Linked DNA regions of Homo sapiens: region 2 is linked to region 1. The links are contacts of gene promoters, found by promoter capture Hi-C in human tissues and cell types (Jung and others, 2019). All regions are on one chromosome and are shown on one strand. Each heading gives the region's core, a stretch centred on a gene start or on the middle of the fragment in contact. The rest is flanking DNA. Distances are from core to core; before and after follow the strand shown. Region 1 holds the start of RBFOX2 (RNA binding fox-1 homolog 2). Region 2 has its middle 41 kb from the start of RBFOX2.

Region 1 (7,928 bases), core at 3,999-6,498:
GCGTAAATTTCATACATATTAAACTTAAAGTGAAATGAACCTCTAATAGCCCTATATTTAACTCATTTAACTTCCCACAAACTTTGAGTACAGTATTTCCAAGTACTCTCTTTAACTACATTTCTCAAACTGTACATCAGCTTTCCAGTTGAGTTTGTCACTTCCCTCCTACTCTCTGGTTCACGTTTCTCTATTTCTGTACTCTTTCCAGGGCTGCACTGACTCCTCTTCCACCTACATCAAGTTTCTGTATACTGCCTTTGAAAGCACCGACCCTTCCTCTCTTTCTCCTAGGGTTCCTTCTGAGCCTAAGGATTATAACAAAAGCATCACAGACTCTCTGGCGTTTCCTAAACTCCATTTTGGTAAGTGATGATTTACTCCAAAAGCTTAGTGGTACAACTTAACAAGATTCAACTTTGGAATCTAACGCTTAGCACTACAGCTCCATTTAGTAAGCAGCCTTGGGAATGACCCCAGTAAATGAACTTATTCTATAAAAAGCGGTTAATCCTTTGACATTCAAAGTGCCTGGAAAATTCTGTGATGATACCCTCACTCTGGAATTTCACAATTTTTCTTAATCCTTAACTATCTGTAAAAGGTAAATTTCAATTTCAATTTAACAGGCATTGAGCACTTACCAAGTACCCAAAACTGTTAGGTATTACGAAGGATAAATACAAAGGAAATATAGTTCCTATCTTTTAGAAGCTTACAATCTTAGCAGTGAAACAAGAATAATAAAACAATTAAGGGACAATAAAAGATGACACACAATTAAGCATCAATATACCAAGAGGCAAGAGTAGGATCGGAATGGTGTGAACTAAGCTGTCAGGGAAGGCTTCACAAAAGGAGTTAGAAAACGTGTTAAGAAAACAGGCCAGGTGCAGTGGCTCATGCCTGTAATCTCAGCACTTTGGGAGGCCAACGCAGGCGATCACCTGAGGTCAGGAGTTCGAGACCAGCCTGGCCAACATGGTGAAACCTCATCTCTACTATAAATACAAAAATTAGCGGGGTGTGGTGGCACATGCCTGTAATCCCAGCTACTCAGGAGGCTGAGGCATAAGAATTGCTTGAACCCAGGAGGCAGAGGTTGCAGTGAGCTGAGATCAAGCCACTGCACTCCAGCCTGGGCAACAGTGAGACTCCATCTCAAAAAAAAAGAAAAAAAAGACGTGTACTTTAAGACAAACCCACATACCCAAAACACTGGCTACGATAAGATTTTTTTTATTTTTTTGAGACAGATTTTCGCTCTTGTTGCCCAGCCTGGAGTGCAATGGCGCAACCTCAGCTAACTGCAACCTCCGCCTCCCGAGTTCAAGTGATTCTCCTGCCTCAGCCTCCCTAGTAGCTGGGATTACAGGCGCCTGCCACCACGCCTGGCTAATTTTTTGTATTTTTAGTAGAGACGGGTTTCACTATGTTGGCCAGGCTGGTCTCGAACTCCTGATCTCAGGCGATCCACCCGCCTCAGTCTCCCAAAGTGCTGGGATTACAGGCGTGAGCCACTGCGCCCGGCTAAGATTTTTAAAGTGTGTATTTACATAGGGCCTATAGATATTTCTAAACCACTGATACCATCTCCTAAGACTACCTGCCCTTGCTCTCTCTGCTCCAGCTATTAATACATTGGTCTCCTGTTTCCAAACAAACCAAGCAGTCTTTCTCAATGCCTGTGCACCCTCACCTCCTCTACCTGAACCCTCTTTCCGAAAGCATCTGAATGGCCCATTACCTCACTTCACTCATAGGCCATCTATCTTAAAGCCCTTCCGTAACCATCTTCATTCTCTCCCTTTCCATCTCTCCCTTTCCCTGCTTTTTCTTTTTAGCCCTTATCACCACACAATTATAGTTGTTGATTTATTAGATGTCTCTTTCCATTCAATATTAGTTCCATGACAGCAAGGGTTTTTTGTTGTTGTTGTTCACTATTATATCTCTTAGGGTTAAAACAGTGCCTGGGATGTAGCAGCTGCTTAATAAATGTTAGTTCAATGAATAAACATTAAGTATATTCATGTAATACTCTCACACTTCTTTAAAAATGCACGCTTCTTTAAAAAAAACTTTTCGCCCATTTGTCTCCCCACATAGATTGCATGCACCTTAAGGACAGTGAACTGGACTTATAACTTTTAGAAGGTAACTTAGAACTTGGCCGGGTGCGGTGCCTCACACCTGTAATCCCAGCACTTTGGGAGGCCGAGGTGGGTGGATTACAAGGGAAATCATCTTGTACACATACTTTATTTTACAACTAAGGAAAACAGAGGCCCCAAAATGAAAGATTTCTGCAGAACCATTCAGCTAGTTGAAGGCAGGGCCTAAATCAATGATTTGAATACCTGTATGACATAGGGGAATGGACCTACAACAATGGGAATGTATAGAAGGCCGGGTGTGGTGGCTCACACCTGTAATCCCAACATTTTGGGAGGCTGAGGTGGGTGAATCACCTGAGGTCAGGAGTTCGAGACCAGCCTGGCCAACCTGGTGAAACCCCCTCTCTACTAAAAATAAGAAAAATTAGCTGGGCATGGTGGCAGACGCCTGTAATCCCATCTACTCAGGAAGCTGAGGCAGGAGAATCCCTTGAACCCAGAGGTGGAGGTGGAGGTGGAGGTTGCAGTGAGCCGAGATCGTGCCATTGCACTCCAGCCTGGGCAAAAAAAAAAAAAAGAGAATGTATAGAAAGAAAATAAAATACAAGAAGTGAAAAAAGGATTCTCGGAGGGATAACTCTCAGCTGCCAATTTGTACCCCCAAGGACCTAACCACTCTTTCCTCTGCACACCCCTGCGAAGTCCCTACACACTGCTCCATTTCCAAATATCACTATCTTTAGCCAGTTTGAAGGCAACCAACAGATAATAGGCCCCAGGAGTAAATGAGGGAAAGGGACGGGGGTCTCACTATTAACTAGGATTGACAGAAATGATAAATGAATACATACACACACACACACACACACACACACACACACCAAGTAGAACCTGCTCACCAGCACCTACATCCAGTCTTCCCTCCTTATCATCCAATATTAGCTCACCTCACCTGAAGTCTCCCACATTCCTGTCTTTTTTGCCATGGCCCTGAGCTTTTACTTCTCACAATCCCTCTGCCTGACAGAGTTCTAATGGAAAATAAAAGCAGGCAAACAAAACAAAAGAATTCAAAAATAAACACCAAGAGGGTCACTTTACCTAAATCAACAGAAGTAACAGGGTAAACTCTGCAAAGGAGACCAAGAAGCATACAACAAACATGCTAGGCTTAAGTACAGCTCTGTCCCTAACACAGGAAGTCAGGCAGAGGCTTGAAAAGCAGGGAGCAGAGCACAGGAAGTCTTTTAGCACTGCAGAGATTTCCAAGAGTGGTGTAATGGAGACAGCACAGGAATAGGAATTAGAAGACCAGGCTTCTAGTTCTAGTTTTACTATTAGCTAACTGGGTGGCCTTACCCAAGTCACCATCTTCTCTGGACTTCTGATTCCCCATCTATAAAATAAGGTGGTTAAAACAAGCTGGGACTTGAATCTCCTCCAAAAAAAACAAAGATGAAAACTATTGACTCTCCTCCACCAAAAAGTGCACATCACCTACTATGAGTAAGAATCTTCCAAGTCTTCCCAGGTTAAGAACCCCTGGAAAAGATGATGTCTAGTCCTCCTAGCATCCCTCTAACATCCTATGACTCCGAGAGAATTAGGCACAAGTCTGCACAACTGTTGGTAGGTGAGACTCATCATGTCATAGCAGTATTTTCTGGGCAAAGACCAAATCGTAAAACCTCCAAAGGTTTCAAGGTCTTCTTCAAAACTATGAAGTCAGCTGACATCAATACCTTTCCCATTCCCTACCCAAATTAACCACGTTTATCTTTCAATCCAGAATTGAGAATCCAGTCTTCTAATAGCCCTATAAAAAAATTTTTTTTATAGCCCGGGACATTAAAGAGCTATTTTGTGTCCTGGTGATGTAGAATGCAATTGGCAAAGAACAGGAGGGACATGTCTAGTGTCTCCCTTCAGACTCATTAGTATGCTCCACAAAGTAAATGAGACTGAGCACCACCGTGTCCCCATAACATTACCAAACTCCTTGTACTTCTCACACTCTGTGTGATTTAACCCACAATCTCAGCCACATCCCCTCGGGGCTCTCTCGAGGAGTTTTCTTTTCACTCCTCTCATTGAAATGCCACTTCTCTTCCCCATCCCAGCGTGTGCCCAGGGCTGCCAAAAGGTACTCCCTCTTCTCGGGAGGTTTCCCACCAGATCTCCTTTTCCTCGACTCAGTCCAGAGAAGCCAGGATTTCCCGGCTTCCACTCCACCCCAAGGCACTAAGGAAGGATTTGAAAAAATGGAATCCATCTCAACCTTGTTCGATTTCCCCCCAAAACCTATCCACTCGTCGTGCCTCCTGGCCCCTCAGGAATCAGGACCCTCTCGGGCACACCAGGTTCAGTCCTGCAACCTTCGTTCCTAGCCCGAGCTCGCCCCACCTTCCAACCAGGCCCCGAATGGCCCCCCATCCCACCTCCAACCCAGGACTCCCGGAGGCCCTCCCTCTCTCCAAGCCGGGGAGCCCGGTGTCGACCCTCACGCCCACCCCCGCAATAACTGGGCGCCCCGTCCCGCGCGGTCACCTGCATCCCGCCGCCACCGTCGGCCGCCGCCTCCTCAGTGCGCGGCCGCTTGCTCAGGCCGGGATCGGCTCCGTCTCCTCCCGCTCCGGGCACCGGCAGCTCCAGCTCCGACTCCCGCTTCATGCCCCGGGCGGCGGCGCCGGGCCCGAGCTGAGGCGGCTGATGCGGCTGGGCGCCCTCCGCCATCCGCCCGCGCCCCCCTCGCCTCCGGGAGCCGGGCGACCCGCGACAGGCCACCTCCCCCTGGGCCTCGGCCCCGACTGTCGCGACAGGCGGGCGCGCGCCTGCCCCCGCCCCCGCGTGCGTGCGTGCGTGCGCGCGAGCGGACTCCGCGCCCCTCCGCGCCTCGCGGCCGCCGCTCCTTGCCTGACCGCTTGCTCCCCGCCCGCCCGCCCGCCGGGTTGTCGGCGCGGGGCCACTGGCGGGTCGTGATGAGCACTCGCTCGCGCCCCCGCACGCACACGCGAAACCCGGCCCGGCCCGCCGCGCCGCCCCGCCTCTCGCACTCCCGGAGCTCGCCCACCGGCCGCGCTGGCTCACACTCTCCCTCACAGCACGCCGGCCGAGGGAGGAAGGGGGCGGTCCGGGCTCCCGAGGCGTGGGGAGGGCTGTTTATTTTGGGGGGAGGAGGGGCGCGAGGCAGGAACGAGCTGACTGGCCGGGATCCTCCGACCCGCCACTGTGGCAGCACCGGGAAGGCGGGGAGAGAGAAAGAGGGAGGGAGGGAGGGACCGGGATGTAGAACTCCAGCCCGCGCGGGAGGCTACGGCGAGGGGGGCGGTGGCGGCCCGCGGGGGGGGCGGGGCCAGGCCCCCTCGGCAATCTCCGTAGTCTCCTCGCTGGCTGCCCGAGGGAGGCCGGGAAGCGATCGGGGAAGCTCGGGAATCTCCGGCACGGGCCTGGGATTGTCCTGGAGGCACAGCGCGGCTGGAGTGCGGGGCAGCGCGGGGGGGGCGGGGTCTGTCTCCTTTCTGGGCGGGGCCGTATCCTGGAGCAGGCGGGGCTTGAGAGACCCGAAGGCCAGGGAGTGGCTCCTGCTTGCGGTACTAGTTGTACAGAGTTAAGTCCTGAGTTTACTCGCCTGAGCACCTTGGTTCCCGGAGAGGGAATGGGCACTCTGTGAGAGGCAGGCTATTTGCCTGCTTCCCCTCCCGCAGAAGAAAAAATGTCTCAAATTGGAAGGTCGAGGAATGAAGCCACCCCTCTATGGTTCACCCCAGTTCTGAGAGCTTTTACTCTAATATAACTCACATTCCTAATGAAGTTAGTAATAATACCCGATGTTTGTAAGAGCTTTAGAGTTTGCACAATGCATCCACAGACCCGTTTCAAACTGGTGATATAAGTAGATACCATGATCTCCATTTCATTGATGATGAAACTGAACCTTAGTTAAATCCTGCAGCAAAAAAGTGGCAGATCCGGAATTCAGAACACGAGAACATATTCTCTTTCTTCGTACCTTGCTGCCTGAGGAGCACTTTATGACTTACCAACTTCGTGGAGATAGAGATATCTGTGCAATAGATTCTCTCCCCTACCAGACTGTGAGGACAAGGACTGCAGTGACTTCCTCTGAGTTCCATATCGTGCCCTGTACGTTATAGAAATAAAAGGATATTGCGTGAATAACCTGGATTCTAATCTTGGCTTTGCTAACTAGCTTAAACAAGTTACTTCATCTCTTTGGACCTCAGCTCCATCATTTGTAAAATGAGATGGTTTGGATCAGTGGCTTTCAACCAAGGAGAAATTTTGCCATTCCACCACCTCCACTCCCACATTTGTCAGTGACTGAAGGCATTTTTTTTTTTTTTTTTTTTTTTTTTTTTGAGACAGAGTCTCGCTCTGTCGCCCAGGCTTAAGTGCAGTGGCGCGATCTCGGCTGACTGCAACCTCTGCCTCCTGGGTTCAAGCGATTCTCCTGCCTCAGCCTCCCCAGTAGCTGGGACTACAGGTGTGCGCCACCAACTAATTTTTGTATTTTTAGTAGAGATGGGGTTTCACCATGTTGGCCAGGCTGGTCTCGAACTCCTGACTTCAGGTGATCCGCCTGCCTCGGCCTCCCAAAGTGCTGAGATTACAGGAGTTAGCTGCCGCGCCTGGCCGACTGAAGGCATTTTTGATTGTTACAGTGGGGAGGTGCTGCTGGCATCTAGTGTGTAGAAGCCAGGAATGTTGCTTGACATCCTATCATGCACAGGACGGTCCCCCCAGGAGAGTTATCCAACCCCAAATGTCAATAGTGCGGAGGTTGAGAAACGCTGGGTTAGATGATTTCCAAGGTCATTTCCAACCAGTGTGTGATTTGGCCTTTGAACCTGGGTTTAACCTGGCTGGGGCTGGAACAGTACAACAGTAAAGATCCCTGCTTCAGAGTCAGACCAACCCAGATGAGAACGCAGGCTTCCCACCTCCTGCCCACGTAATCTGGGACCAGTGGTGACTAAGAACTTCCATATAAAAGGTGTTTGGGGATTGCAGACTGGTTGGAAGGGAAGTCGGGAGGACTTGCCTTGAAGGTGAGTTGTTGTATTGAGCATATTGTTTGTATTACTTAGGCTGTGTTATAAATCAGTAAAAATAGCAGAGTTTTAGCTCTGCCACCTGCAAGTCATGATGCCTTGTGACAGCTACTTACCCCCTCTGTGTCTCAGTTTCTTCATCTGCAAATTAGGATAACAATAATACCTTCCTGAAAAGATTATTGTAAGAATTTAATGTTATCACGTTTAGAACTTTGAACGGAATGATTTAGGATAAGCGCTCCATAAGTGTTACAGCTAACACTTATAGCTAACTAATAATAGCTTATTAGTAGTACCATTATCACTTTATTCACTTTTTTTTTTTCAGATGGAGTCTCGCTCTGTCACCCAGACTGGAGTGCAGTGGTGTGATCTCGGCTCACTGCAACCTCCACCTCCTGGGTTCAAGCAATTCTTGTGCCTCAACTTCCCAAGGAGCTGTGATTACAGGCGCCCACCACCACGCCCGGCTAATTTTTTGTATTTTTAGTAGAGACAGGGTTTCACCATGTTGGCCAGGCTGGTCTCGAACTCCTGACCTCAAGTGATTCCCCCCCTTTGGCCTCCCGAAGTACTGGGATTACAGGCATGAACCACCAGGCCTGACCTTTATTCACATTTTAAATGAGAGTGAAAAAACATTCATTGTCAAGATCAAAGAATATCATTATCATTATTATTGGGTTTTTTTTAATTATGTAAGGTGACTTGAGTGGGGCTGCTAGAGATTCACATG
Region 2 (7,928 bases), core at 3,415-5,914, 42 kb after region 1:
CGATTTCGGGGTCCGCAGCCCACGTGCTGCGCGGTCTCTTCTCCAGGCCACCCCGCTTGTCTAGCTATGCGCTGGGGGCAGGGAAAGATCTCCCTGTAAGATCTCCCTTACATGTGGACATCTGAGAGCTGAGATCTCGATGACCCCGGAAGACCCTTACACCCGGAGTGGAGCGGAAGCAGGATGAGAGAATATTGACTGAGCCCTGCCAGCCACTGTTCTAAGCACTTTTTCCCTGTTCCTGCCGATTTGCTCCTCACAACAACCATAGGAAGTGGAGACTATGATTATCCCCGTTGCACAGTAAGGAAACTGAGGCAAAAGGCGGTTAGGTAACTTGGCGATGTCTCCCGGCTAGGGATAGCAGAATGGGATAGAAACGCAGGCCACGCGGTCTGGAGCGGTGGCTCACGCCTTTAATCCCAGTACTTAGGGAGGCCGAGGCGGGCGGGTTACCTGGGGTCAGGAGTTCGAGACCAGCCTGGCCAACATGGTGAAACCCTATCTCTACTAAAAATACAAAAATTAGTCGGGGTGGGCACCTGTAATCCCAGCTACTCGAGGCTGAGGCAAAAGAATCGCTTGAACCCAGGAGGCAGAGGTGGCAGTGAGCCGAGATCACCCCACTGCACTTCAGCCTGGGTGGCAGAACAAGACTCTGTCTCAAAAAAAAAAAAAAGAATAAAAAAAAGAAAGGCAGGCCACCCGGTGGTGGTCCCTGTGCTCCTCCCCACCCACCCCCGCACTGTGCTGGGCGGTGAGGAGGCGGCTGGCCCAGGAGGTGGGGGTGTGGAGTGGGGCACATCAGAGATTTCAAATTGACCAAGGTCTGTTTTGTGTCAGTTTGTCAGTTTTATGTGTCAGCTTGGCTAAACTATGGTCTCCTGTTATTTGATCAAACACTAATCTATTTTTTCTTTTAGTTTAAAAAATAATAATTAAATGAAAAAATCCTGGCTAATGTTTTTTTTTTTGTAGAGACAGGGTTTTGCCTTGTTGCCCAGGCTGGCCTCTGACCCTTGGGCTCAAGTGATCTGCCACCATGCCTAGCCTCAAACACTAATCTAGATGTTGCTTGAAGGCATTTTGTAGATGTGATTTGTCTATAATTAGTTTACTTCAAGTAAGGGAGATTATCCCAGATAATCTGGGTGAGTCTGAAAGACTTTATGGGTAGAACTGAGGTGCCCTTGAAGAGGAAGAAATTCTGCCAGCCAATAGCAATTTCAGCTTGTGCTGAAGAGTTCCAGCCTTCCTAACAACCAGCCCTACAAATTTCGGACTTGCCTAGCCAGCCCTGTGTGTATAAACCAATTCCTTGCAATAATCACACCTACACCCTCACCCCACCCCCCTCCCCAAATACATGTATATATGGAGAGAGAGGGAGAGAGAATATAAAATCATACATATATCATATATCTCCTATTTGTTCTGTGTCTTTAATTTCTCTAGTTGACCCCTGACTGATGCAATGACCCAAGAGCAGGCAGATGCCCGGGGGGCGTTTATGATACCTCTCCTAGGACTTGGCTCAATCTGAGTCCCTCAACGGCCATCTGCAACCCTGAGGAGGGTAGGAAAATCCCAAATTGACTGAGATTACATTTCCATCATCAACAGCAATGGAGAATCAATAAAGAAATTTAGTTCAGATATTGAAAAATGAAGAGGGCTGGGTGCAGTGGCTCACGCCTGTAATCCCAGCACTTTGGGAGGCCGAGGCGGGTGGATCACCTGAGGTCGGGAGTTCGAGACCGGCCTGGCCAACATGGTGAAAACTCATCTTTACTAAAAATACAAAAATTAGTTCTGGTGGGTGCCTGTAATCCCAGCTACTCGGGAGGCTGAGGCAGGAGAATTGTTTGAACCCATTAGGCAGAGGTGGCAGTGAGCCGAGATCACCCCATTGCACTTCAGCCTGGGTGACAGAACAAGACTCCGTCTCAAGGAAAAGAAAAAAAAAAGAAGAAAGTCACAGTTTTTGCACTATCAAGTTTATGTGCTAAGATTCATACCTCATTTTAACAGCCTACATCTACTTCTGCGTGGACCAGAAGGACAGAGCCACAATAACACTGACCAAACCATAGTAATAGCACAATCGTTGCTACAAAACATTTGCAAATAATCAGATAATATATCTGATTAGGGCCTTGTATCCAGAATATATAAAGAGCTCTTATTGCAACAACAAGTAGAAAACAGATCAATTTAAAAATGGGCAAAGGTAGGCCAGGCACAGTGGCTCACACCTATAATCCCAGCACTTAGGGAGGCCGAGGCGGGTGGATCACCTGAGGTCAGGAGTTTGAGACCAGCCTGGCCAACATGGCGAAACTCCGTCTCTACTAAAAGTACAAAATTGAGCCGGACGTGGTGGTGAGAGTCTGTAATCCCAGCTACTTGGGAGGCTGAGGCAGGAGAATCGCTTGAACCCAGGAGATGGAGGTTGCAGTGAGCTGAGATCTCGCCATTGCACTCCAGCCTGGGCGACAAGAGTGAGACTCTGTCTCAAAATAAAAAATAAAATAAAATAGGCAAAGGACTTGAATATCCAAAGAAGATAAACAAATGGCCAATAAGCAAACAATACTTTCAAGCACAAAAGATGCTCGACATAATTAGTCATCAAGGAAAAGGCAAATCAGAACCACACGGGACTCACTTCACATCCACCAGGATGACTATAGTCCTTACAGTAAGAGAATAGCAGATGGCAGGTATTGTGCTTTACTTGTATTAAGTAACTTAATCCTCACAGTAGCCTCGTGAAGGAGGGATGGCTATTAGCTCATTTACAAAAGAGGAACTGAGGCCTGGAAAGGTGAAATGATTGCCCCAGTGTTCCACGGCTGGTCAGTGGGTGTCAGAATTTAAGACCTGGGCTGTCTGCTTCCAAAGCTGTGCTATCCAGCTTTAATGACTGTGCTATACTGGTCTCTAGCAAAATTATTGAAAATTTCCCTCTCAGACCCACCATTTACCTTTATTGCTCCCAGAGACCCTCACATGTGCTCCTTAGCTACCAAAAACAGACTTCTTCTTTCTCCTGGCATTTGTCCCATGTCCTTTGGTCAGTCCAGAACTCACTAGGAGGCTCCCAGACGCTGTGTCCGTGTTTCTCCTCCAGACCGACGATGCTGCCTGTGTCACTGCCTCAGGGCCATGTCACTGCTGCTGCCCCACTGGACTCCCACGGTCCTAGCCACCAGCCACTCCCCTCCTTCTTCCTGGCTAGCAAGGTTTACTGACTACCATAGAGGCGGAAAATGCCAGATGCTCGGTTTCCCAGGTTCCCTTTACAGTTACAGGTGACCATGTGACCGTGTTCTGGTCAATGACATATAAGGAGAGTCTTCTGAGAAAGATTTTCTCTCCTGGCCAGAATAGAGAGAGAGGGTGAGGTAGATGGAAAGAGCGGGAAGCTGGGCGCAGTGGTTCACACCTGTAATCCCAACACTTTGGGAGGCCAAGGCAGGTGGATCACCTGAGGTCAGGAGTTCGAGACCAGCCTGGCCACATGATGAAACCTTGTCTCTACTAAAAATACAAAAATTAGCTGGGTGTGGTGGTGTGGGCCTGTAATCCCAGCTATTTGGGAGGCTGAGGCACGTGAATCACTTGAACCCAGGAGGCGGAGATTGCAGTGTGCTGATCATGCCACTGCACTCCAGCCTGGGCAACAGAGTGAGACTCCGCCTCAAAACACACACACACACACACACACACACACACACACACACACACACACAAAACAGTGGGAGAGAGAGTAAGAGTGAGGGAGGGAGCAAGAAAGCTAGAGTGAGGAAAGTTAACTTTTCTTGTTGTTCTGACTACTCCTTTTCTTCCTGGCTTTGGAGACAATTGTATAAGAATGTAATGGCGGCTGAGCGTGGTGACTCACACCTGTAATCCCAGCACTTTCGGAGGCCGAGGTGGGTGGATCACTAGGTCAGGAGATCGAGACCATCCTGGCTAACATGGTGAAACCCCGTCTCTACTAAAAATACAAAAAAATTTAGCTGGGTGTGGTGGCGGGCGCCTGTAGTCCCAGTTACTCGGGAGGCTGAGGTGGGAAAATGGCGTGAATCCGTGAGGTGGAGGTTGCAGTGAGCCGACATCGTGCCACTGCACTTCAGCCTGGGCGACAGAGCGAGACTCTGTCTCAGAAAAAAAAAAAAAAAAAAAAAAGAATGTAATGGCTTGCCTGGGCATGGTGGCTCACGCCTGTATTTCCAGAACTTTGGGAGGCCAAGGCAGGTGGATCACTTGAAGTCAGGAGTTCACGACCAGCCTGGTCAACATGACAAAACCCTGTTCCTACTAAAAATACAAAAATTAGCTGGGTGTGGTGGCGGGCACTTGTAGTCCTAGCTACTCAGGAGGCTGAGGCAGGAGAATTGCTTGAGCCTGGGAGGCAGAGGTTGCAGTGAGCCAAGGTGACGCCACTGTACTCCAGCCTGGATGACAGAGTGAGACTCTGTCTCAAAAAAATTTAAAAAAGAATGTGATGGCTGGAACTGTGGCAGCCATACTGCAACTATGAGGTGACAAGTCTGAAGATGAAAGGTATCATACTCTGCATGGCAGAATGAAAGGATGGAAGAACATGGGTTCTTCATGATTAGTAGAGCAGCTAAGGCTTAGCAATGGAACTGCCTACTTCCAGCTTTCTTGTTAAATGAGGTAACTATTTTTATTGTTTAGACAGCTTAGCAATTTGACAGTCTGTTATTTGTAGCTGAAGGCATCTTTGTTTTATTATCATTATTTTTTGAGACAGAGTCTCACTCTGTCACCCAGGTTGGAGTGCAGTGGCATGATGGCTCACTACAAGCTCCATCTCCTGGGTTTCAAACAATTCTGGTGCCTCAGCCTCCAACGTAGCGGGAATTACAGGCATGCGCCACCACACCCGGCTGATTTTTGTAATTTTAGTAGAGATGGGGTTTTGCCATGTTGGCCAGGCTGGTCTCAAACTCCTGGCCTCAAGTGATTCATCTGCCTTGGCCTCCCAAAGTGCTGGAATTACAGATGTGAGTCACTATGCCGGCCGTTTAAAGTTTTTTTCTTTTTAGAGACAGGGTCTTGCTCTGTGGCCCAGGCATGAACATAGCTCAATTCAGTCTCAAACTCCTGGGCTCAAGTGATCCTCCTGCCTCAGTCTCCCAAGTAGCTAGGACTACCTATGCACACCACCCAGCTGACTAATTTTTATTTTTTTATTTTTGTACAGATGGGGGTCTTGCTCTGTTGCTCAGGCTGGTCTGAAACTCCTGGCCTGAAGCAATCCTGCCTTTACCTCCCAAAGTGTGGGGATTACAGGCGTGGAGCCACCATGCCCAGTCATGAAAGCATTTTTGCCTGATACCCTGCCACACTGGAGCTGGAAAAAACACCTCCTCCCAAAGAAGTTTAAAACTTTATTGGCCATGAAAAGAGCTGAGGCCCTATAGAAGAGTGGAAAAGTATGAGTTTGTGTTCCAGTCTTACCCTCCACAACTTAATAGCCACCTGCCTTTGAACAAGAGCTTAACTTCTCTGAGCCTCCGTTTACTCATCTGACCACTGCCTGGCACATTGGCCTACATGTATAATAGGGATAATAATTTTTTTTTTTTTTTGAGAAAAAGTCTTGTTCTGTTGCCCAGGCTGGAGTGCAGAAGCATGATCTCGGCTCACTGCAACCTCTGACTCCTGGGTTCAAGCAATTCTCTTGTCTCAGCCTCCCAAGTAGCTGGGATTACAGGCATGTTCCACCATGCTCGTTTGATTTTTGTATTTTTAGTAGAGACACGTTTCACCATGTTAGCCAGGCTGGTCTCGAACTGCTGACCTCAGGGGATCCACCCGCCTCGTCATCCCAAAGTGCTGGGATTACAGGCATGAGCCACCACATCTGGCCTATAAATTTGTTTTTAGAAGGAGGGTTTGGGGGAAATTTTTTAAAATAAAAGCTTCTAGCAAGCCTCCTACACCATCCCAATCAATCTCTGTGCTTTTTTTAAAAAAAAAAAAAAAAAAAAGGAGGCCAGGTGCAGTGGCTCACACCTGTAATCCCAGCATTTTGGGAGGCTGAAGTGGACAGATCACTTGACCCCCGGAGTTTGAGACCAGCCTGGGCAACATGGTGAAACCCTGTCTCTACAACAAAAATACAAAAATTAGCCGGGTGTGGTGGTGCACACCTGTGGTCCCAGCTACTAGGGAGGCTGAGGTGGGTGGATCACCTGAGCCTGGGGAGGTCAAGGCTCCAGTGAGCTGTGATCGCGTCACCGTGCTCCAGCCTGGATGACAGAGTGAGATTCTGTTTAAGAAAAAAAAAAAAAAAAGTGGGGGGGTGGGGAAGAAAAATAAAGAAAACAAGAGGCCAGGCATGGTGGCCCATGCCTGTAATCCCAGCATTTTGGAAGGCCGAGGTGGGCAGATCACGAGGTCAGGAGATTGAGACCATCCTGGCCAACATGGTGAAACCCTGTCTCTACTAAAAATACAAAAAAAGAGCCAGGCATGGTGGCAGGCGCCTGTAGTCCCAGCTACTTAGCATGCTGAGGCAGGAGAATCGCTTGAACCTGGGAGGCAGAGGTTGTAGTGAGCCCAGATCGTGCCACTGCATTCCAGCCTGGGTGAGAGAGCGAGACACCATCTCAAAAAAAAAAAAAAAAAATTAAGAAAATCAGAAGCCCTGCTGTCTGTCTGTACCCAAGCCCTTCCACCAAGAGAGCTAGTCTAGGTGTGAGATCTCACACTGTCTTTGTAGCCATCTAAAAACAATAATAATAACAAACTGGACAGTATACAATAATAAATAGATAAAAAAGGGCAGAGGAGTTGAATATCCAAAGAAGATAAACAGGCCAGGCACAATGGCTCTTGCCTGTAATTCTAGTACTTTGGGAGTCCGAGGCAGGTGGATCACTTGAGGTCAGGTGTTCAAGACCAGCCTGGCCAACATGGTGAGACCCCATCTCTACTAAAAATACAAAAACTAGCTGGGCGTGGTGACATGTACCTGTAGTCCCAGCTACTTGGGAGGCTGAGGCAGGAGAATCATTTGAAACCCAGGAGGTGGAGGTTGCAGTGAGCCAAGATCACGCCATTGCACTCCAGCCTGAGCGACAGAGCAAGACTCTGTCTCAAAAAACAAAGAAACAAACAAAGGAACAAAAAACAACAGAAAAACAAAAACAAAGAAGACAAACAAATGGCCAATAAGCATATGAAAAGATGCTCAATATACTTAGTCATTAAGGAAATGCAAATCAAAACCACAATGAGATATCACTTCCCATCCACTAGGATGGCTATAATCCAAAAACCAGAAAATAACCAGTACTGGTGAGATGTGGAGAAGTTGAAACCCTTGCATATTACTGAATGGAATGATAAATGGGAGTTACTATGGAAAACAGTAACTGCTTTGGGCCTGGTGCAATGGCTCATGTCAGTAATCCTAGCACTTTGGGAGGCCGAGGTAGAAGGATCACTTGAGGCCAGCCTGGGCAACATGATGAAACCCTACCTCTACAAAAAAAAAAGTGTGTGTATATATATAAAAGTATATAATATATAAAAGTATATATATATAAAAGTATATATATATAAAAGTATATATATAAAAGTATATATATATAAGTATATATATAAAAGTATATATATATAAAAGTGTATATATATAAGTATATATATAAAAGTGTATATATATAAGTATATATATAAAAGTGTATATATATAAGTATATATATATAAAAGTGTATATATATAAAAGTATATATATATAAAAGTGTATATATATAAAAGTGTATATATATATATATATATATATATGTGTGTATATATATATTAGCTGGGTGTAGTGGCATGTGCCTTTAGTCCCAGCTACTCAGGAGGCTGAGGTGGGAGAATTACTTGAGCCCAGGAGGTTG

What was found. The method cuts DNA at HindIII sites, captures the fragments that hold promoters and counts their contacts. A contact is called where the count stands out against the background at its distance.
Region 2: a fragment that was not itself captured here is called in contact with the fragment with the promoter of RBFOX2 in region 1 in 1 of the 25 tissues and cell types used here (heart right ventricle).

Annotation. Positions count from the first base shown.
Region 1 is chr22:36,023,576-36,031,503 of GRCh38, forward strand. RBFOX2 (RNA binding fox-1 homolog 2) reads right to left here and starts at 5,249. Exons shown (of 14, transcript NM_001349999.2): 1 at 4,665-5,249. The coding sequence starts at 4,850. RefSeq lists a silencer at 5,415-5,484. The HindIII fragment of the contact is 7,839 bases long and covers 552-7,928 here.
Region 2 is chr22:36,066,331-36,074,258 of GRCh38, forward strand. No RefSeq gene overlaps it. Among named protein-coding and RNA genes, the nearest start is that of RBFOX2, 41 kb to the left of the region's middle. The HindIII fragment of the contact is 6,349 bases long and covers 1,491-7,839 here.